Linked DNA regions of Homo sapiens: region 1 is linked to region 2. The links are contacts of gene promoters, found by promoter capture Hi-C in human tissues and cell types (Jung and others, 2019). All regions are on one chromosome and are shown on one strand. The core of a region is centred on a gene start or on the middle of the fragment in contact, and the rest is flanking DNA. Distances in the headings are between cores, read along the strand shown. Region 1 has its middle 76 kb from the start of LINC02531. Region 2 holds the start of EPHA7 (EPH receptor A7).

Evidence for each region. The method cuts DNA at HindIII sites, captures the fragments that hold promoters and counts their contacts. A contact is called where the count stands out against the background at its distance.
Region 1: a contact is called between a fragment that was not itself captured here and the fragment with the promoter of EPHA7 in region 2, in 1 of the 25 tissues and cell types used here (mesenchymal stem cells).

What each region holds. Positions count from the first base shown.
Region 1 is chr6:92,798,123-92,801,570 of GRCh38, forward strand. No RefSeq gene overlaps it. Among named protein-coding and RNA genes, the nearest start is that of LINC02531, 76 kb to the left of the region's middle. The HindIII fragment of the contact is 3,748 bases long and covers 1-3,354 here.
Region 2 is chr6:93,417,471-93,420,957 of GRCh38, forward strand. It overlaps EPHA7 (EPH receptor A7), which reads right to left and starts at 2,089. Exons shown (of 17, transcript NM_004440.4): 1 at 1,775-2,089. The coding sequence starts at 1,871. RefSeq lists a silencer at 2,137-2,336. The HindIII fragment of the contact is 11,378 bases long and covers 1-3,487 here.

The sequences.
Region 1 (3,448 bases), core at 231-2,730, 620 kb before region 2:
CAGTTTGTTGAGCTCTTTGGATGTTTATATTCATATCTTTCATCAAATTTAGAAAGTGTTTAGCTATTATTTTTTAAAATATTCTCTCTGGAACTTTGTCTCTTCTCCTTTGGGACTCCTGCAATTTTATGTTGATTTCTGCTTAATGGTGTCCCACAGATTTCTTAGGTTTAGTTCACTTTTCCTCAAACTTTTTTCTTTCTGTTTCTCAGACTTGATAATTTCCATTGTCCTACCTTCAAGGTCACTGATTCCTTCTTCTCCCTACTCAAATCTGCCTTTGAATCCTTCTAGTATTTTTTTTTTCATTTTAACTATTGTACTTTCCAGTTCTATAATTTTTTTGGTTCATTTCTAGGTTTTCTAACTCTTTATTGATATTTTCATTTTGTTCATATATTGTTTTCTTAGCTTTCTCCCCATCTTTAATTATTTGAGCATATTTAAGACAGTTCTTCGAAATCTTTATCTAGTAGATATACTTTCTGTTCTTTTCAGGAACAATTTCCATAGTTTATTTTTTCTTTGAGTGGGCCATACTTTTCTGTTTCTTTGTGTGTCTTGTGATTTTTTTTTTTTTTTTGGCAAGAACTGGACATTTGAATCTAATAATGTGGCAATTCAGGAAATCATATTCTTTCCCTTCCCCAGAGTTTGCTATTTGTTGTTTTTATTTATTCTTTTTAAATTGTTGTAGGTTGTCCCTGTGCTAAGGATCAGCCTGTGATGTAAACTTAAGGTTTTCTCGGGTGTTTCCTGAGTCTGTGCCTTTCCCTGGCAAGTATGGTCACTTTCTAATTTTCCTGTATATGCTGTTATTTGTGAATGTCCTAGTCATAAATATCTGGCTCCCAAAAAAGGGAAAAGAGAAAAAATGAAAGAGTGGAGGAATGGGTGCCAACCCTTTAAATCCCCTGGAAGTCACTTTAGCTATAGGGTGGACAGCTTGCAACAATGAGGGAGGTATAAGAACAATGGCTACCCACCTCCTTTTCTGCACCTCAGTAATCAGAAGCAGCAATCAGCAATCAGAGCACAGCTCCCTAATATTTGGAGAACAGGGTCCTTTTTGCCCACCCTAGCTCCCACTAACTGTATGCAAGCTGCTCCTGGAATGCATGCACACCTGCTTACCCTACATGAGGGATAAGTGGTTGCTACTATGCTGAGAACTAAAATTGACCTATCAAGCCTTCCCCTGGGGGTTGCAAGCCTTCAATAGACTCCAGATTTCCAAAACAGTTACAAGAGTCAGAGACGGCCAGTGCAATTACTATTGAGGTAGAAAGACTGATTGCTGGTGCTTCCTACTCCACCATCTTCCCAGAATTCTCCTTGGATATTGTTCAAGGTAATTTTGCCTATCATATGAGGCAGAGATACCCGAGCCTTTCATAAAGCTTAGGCAGGGAATAACTCTCTCTTCATGCTTAGGACTGAGAGCCACTCATGCAAATTAATGCCACCAAATATCTGTGAGGATATTAGCCATGTAGGATTCAGGGTTGGAGTCCTAGAGATAGTTTTTACTTTATTCTAAAAGATGCACATAGTACAATTTTAATATAGTGCAAATTTTGTCTTGAGCACTCCCTAATCCTTGATTTACCAACCTCCTTCTTCATGCCAACAACCAAAGAGAGGCATAATTCTCTCATATTAAGCTTAAATGTCCTGGGACTTCACTTTTTCTAATGTGCCTCCATGCTTATTTTCTTTCACTCTTTCAAAGGTGTAACTAAACATAAAGTTTCACTTAAGATATTAAATACTCAATTTTTAAGGGTATCTTATATTTTCTGTACATAAGATTTTATCCACAAATAGTGCAAGGAGTAATATTATATAATACATGACAATTTTATCTGAGGCATGCCAGGGTCGTAACTTGAAGGCAATGATAAGTGATTAAAGTATTCCATTCCTTTTTAGGCCAGTAAGGAAGGAGGGTTCTAGGTGTGTGTGTGTGTGTGTGTGTGTGTGTGAATGCACGCACATACACACGCATGCAAATATGTTTGAGAACACTGTGGCCCTCAAAACAAAACACAAATGTTACTCTTCTTGATCAAAGGAATTCCAGGAATTTATGACACAGGATGATATAAGAATGAACATGTCAATTCTTACTATACATTCAAATGGAGAAGGAACAAAAATAGTGCAGTGCCCTACCCACAATATCATGTTAGTGTCCTTTCCTTTCCTACTGCAAAACTTCCTCAAACCCCATCAGATGAATATGGGCACCCCCTCCCTCCACATACATGTAGGATTGTGACTTGGCCAGTTCCGTCCAATGGCGCCATCAAAGTTTGCCTCTCTCCTTCTTGAAGCTCCCCCAACATCCTTGGATTGCTGTATATAGCATTCAGTTACCCTTGTAAACAGGCAGACCTAGTCTCATCCCTGATTATCTTTGTCATTACAGCAAGGAATTTTGAGGTGTAAGAGTAAAGAGGAACTGAGGACATGAAGGGAGAGAGTAGCTCTGAGTCAGTAAGCAAGGCTTTGAATTCACTGCAGTTGCAAGCAGCATGGCAGTATCTTATAATTCAAAAACAAAACTTTAATGTTTTCAGCTCATTCTAAACTTTTTACGGGGCAGCAAGGTCATTATTACTGACATTCTCAGTTTTGGGATCTTCTATTTCAGAAGCCACCATCACATTGCTTTCTGACTAAAACCACAAGGTTTGTTTGACTGAATCAGACTTGATTTGCTTAGTGTCAGTCTTTTTTTTTAGGACGCCATTTTAATCCATATCATCTGCTGTCCATTACAAGAATAATATCTCTTAAGTTTTCCCTCAGTAGGGAGAGTGACTTGTTTTCTTTCCCTTCATATAAGGGTTCTTTTAGCCAAAGGAACTCTAGCCTTGCAATGTTTGTTTTGTGTGATTTCTGTTATTTTTATTGTACAATTTTAACACCCTACTCTACCCTCTACTCCAGACTAGCAAGGCTTGCAGAATTAATTTATCAACGTCCCTTTGAGTCCGTTTCTTATTTTCTCATGAGTTAACTGCATTCACATTTTAAACCAAATCTTGGCAGTAAGAGCCCTAGTGCTAGCTGTTGCCTCATCTATGATTTTCCATGAAAAAATCATCTCTCTCATGAAATTCTTCCTGAGAGTACCAAAGCTCTCTTATAGCAGCCAAGACTCACTGCAAAATCCCTGAGACAAAGTGAATTTAAGATTGGCAGCAAAGACTGTAGGCGGTGCTGAGCTGTAAGATAGCTCAGCTGTTGCATTTCTTCTTAACGAGCATTATATGTATGCCTGGCCCCTCATTTCTCAAGCACCAATGAAATTTCTAATGATTTCTTGGGTTTCTACCACAGTGTTGATGACTGTCTCTTGTTTCACCCATGTGGGTGCACGTCTCTATAAATATTTTCCAAAGAGAGTCAGAAACATCTTCCCTCCCACAAGCAAATCTTA
Region 2 (3,487 bases), core at 839-3,338:
GAATTCAGGCTCTTAGAATCAGAATCCTCTTCACGTAGCTTGCACCCAGAAGAGCAAAGAGAACTAGACATTCTGGCTGCAGGAACCTCTCCCCCTAGTGATGCAGTTATTTATAGCCCAAACTCCAGCCCGAGTCTGCGTGTGTTCGCGCGCGGGGTTTCGCCGCGGCGGTGCAAACTTTTCCTCTGGTCCGCTATTCCAGAGGAATCACAGTATGCCAGGGCTGAAGGTTTCTGATCGCTAACGTCAGGGGAGTAGAAATGTGGTTTTGGAGGGGATGAGCGTGCGTTTCTAGCAGATGTCCGTCCTTCTGCAAACGCGTAACCGCCAGCTTGGAGGCACGGGGTTCTCTGAATGGGTTCAGCATCTATACAGGTTGCAGATGTGGAAAGTGGGGTCAGAAGGTCAGGCTGAAAGAAGGACTAGAATTTGGCGCCGGGTTTGAGGGGGGCTTGAGCGAACTAAGAGGAGTGCACGATGAGAATAAAGAAAAGGTGCACTAAGTTTTCAGAAATAGATGAATCAAGGACCTATATGTAAGTCCCCTCAACACCCCGCCCGATAACCACCATGACCTAAATTTCATAACAGATTCCTCTCCCTCTACACATCAGGAATAAGTAATTATTTCTCTTCTGCTTTTAACAGATCGAAAAATGAAACTTAGATACACAGCCTGAAAGACCAGGGGGGCGACGGGATGAGGGGGGTTGGGGATGGGATTGTGACACTGCTCAAAAGCAAGAGACTTCCATTGACAGGGTTTATTTTTCCCCAGCTCCAACTACAGGCACCGAAAGGTATTTTACCTTCTGTCAAAGGTTCAAAGAAGGAAAACATAACCATATACAGGCGTATCTGTAACAGCTTGCCAAATAAAACCTGCCTTCTCCTACCAGAACCAACCCTCAGGGTTCAGGTCTTTGGCAAGGATTGGGCACTCGGATTCCTCAATTGCTGCACTATGGGGCAAATAATTGGGGACTTTGAGTCGCCCAGGCGGCATCCTTACAAATTGCACAGCTCCAGCCCGCCCCCTGCCTCCACGGCCCGACCAAGCCCGCTGGGCTGCCGCTGCCCCCATGACCGCTGGGCCCGACGCGCAGCGCGCGCTGAATGGAGACATCCCCGGCCCTCGGGTCGCGCGCCGCACGCCGCGCTTCACCTCCGCGGCGTTATTGTTCCGTGCTGGCGGCCGAGCGCCAACCGCAGGACCGCGCCGCCGCCTCCGACGCAGTGAGCACTTCATTAGTAACCCGAGCTTTCCGAGCTCATCGAAGTCTCGGTCCCTCTGGGAAGGCTCCGGGCTCCCGCCACTCGCCGGCGGGCTGGCGGAGACGGTAGGGGCTGCATTTCCCAGTCTCCAACCCAACTCTGGCCGCAGCTCCCACAGAAGGCGAATAAGGAGACAAGGAAGACCGAGCTAGAGAGAGATGTGACCCGCCTGAGGTACTAAGAAATAAGCTCGCCGGCAGTTCCTCCAACCCCACCCCACCCCCGTTGCTGCTCACGCCCTCCAGACTGCCCGCGCCAGAAATCCCGCACCCGTCGGATGGACGGCTCCGGGCACAGGGCTGTAGGCGGCTCGGAACAGCCCTGGTTCGCGCTCGCTGGTCCGCCAGGAGCGGCCTCAGCGGTGAGGGGGCGGGGAGCCGGCGGGGGAGGGTCGCCCGGCGCCGGAGGCGCGGCCGGCAGCGCCGCGGACGAGCTGGCTTGTGCAGGTAGACATCTAAATAAATAAGTCAGAACAAACTTTGCTTTCCCATCACCTTACCTTCCTTCGCAGCCTGCGCCTCCCCTGTGTGTGCAAAGCGGAGCAGCCAGATGTAGCATAAAATAATCCATGAAGGGTACCGAGTTTGAAAAACCATGGTGCATGAGCAGGTTTTATTTTAGGTTTCAGTTATCTTGAGTCGTGGATTTTTAAATGCTGTTTGTTCCGAAGTAGCTTTTGTTTTATTGTGCTCCTTGCATCGATTCCCCTTCTCGGTCCCCGATCGGCTGCTCCACGTTTAGCTTTTTTTAATTTCCCCCCCACTCCTGTTCGCTCGCACCGTGTTTGCTGCCTGCAAGTCTCCGACTGCAGACCGGCCGCTTGCTCCACACTCCAATAATATCAATTAGGGGGGGAGGGGGCGGGGCTCCGAGCTGAGAGCCTCCGCCACTCGGGCTGAGTGGCAGGCACAGCCGGCCTGCCAGGAGGCGATTCCCAGGGCCAAGGGGCGGGTCCCGGCGAAATGGCCGCCCCGGCCACGGGGGCGGGGTCCGAGGCAGGAGCCAATCGGTGCCGAGCGGAGTCAGGTTGCTGGTCCAGGATTCCCTCCAGGTTCTGAGCTCGCGCTGGATGTTCAGAGGAGAACGAGGATGGTAGCCGAGGTGTGTGCTGCTTTGGACGCTCTGCTTTTAGCAACCGCAGCTTTCGCGTAGCAGAATAAATCCGAGAATAACGCTCCCAACTTACACTCTTTTCTATAGCTGTACTCCGCGCGATCTTTTAGAAACCAGAGGCGAAGCAAGCCTTCTCTCAGCTACCAAGCACGGAGCCCGGACAGTGAAATGAGCTGTGCCTTTAAGTAAAGTGTGTTTTACTTTTTTGTTGTTAGAACCTCCGCGGGCTGGGTAACTTTGTTTTTTGCCTTTTTGAAAAGTTTCTACTTCTCTTTTTCTGTTACTCCAAGAGCCGTCAGTTTTAGGTACCACCCACCACAATCCCTGAAAGAATAAAGTAACCAAGTGTATTATGTTTAAACAATGTTTCCAAGAGTTTGCAACAAGCTCTGGCAAAAGAAACAGAGGAAAAGGGAGTGGGAAAGGAAGTCTTTTGTTTTAAGCGCCCCTTCTCCTCCGCCCTGTCTTTTCACCATAGTTTGTTGAGCGAAGTGAGACATTAGGAGAGAACCTTCTGATGGTTGCGTATCGTTTTTTTACGCGTTTATCATTTTCTAAGGTTTTCCTTGGATTGCCTCCACTTTGATAGTTTTCCATTTCGCTGCATAAATTACACTGAATTTTAAAGAATGCCACTACGTATTAAATTCATAAAGCAAGACCTTTCTCTTCGCAAGTATTTACCATTTTCAGGAATTATTCAATGCTTATCTTTCAAAGAGAAACTAAGAATAAAAAAAGTCATAACCAATATCTCCAGTTGAATTCATTCAACCCGAACGGCAAGGAAGGCTGCGTAGAGAAATCTGTTTTCCATTAGGCAGTTTCGGACACTTTGTATTCAAGAGGTAGGTAATAAGAGGAAGAACTTTAAAATTTTAATTGCCAAATCTTCAATTTCAAAGGTCACACAGAGTAACTTGATCACATGTTTAAGATGAATTTCTTTTTTTGTCCTATAATTTCTTCCTTTAAAAATATTTCTCAGTCATTTATGATTTCCTTTTATTTCCGATAGATCCAAAGTTTGATCTCACATAAGGCTCCAAACTTTTTCCAACCTTTCTATCTGGAAATATAAAGTAAATTGAGTTGTTTC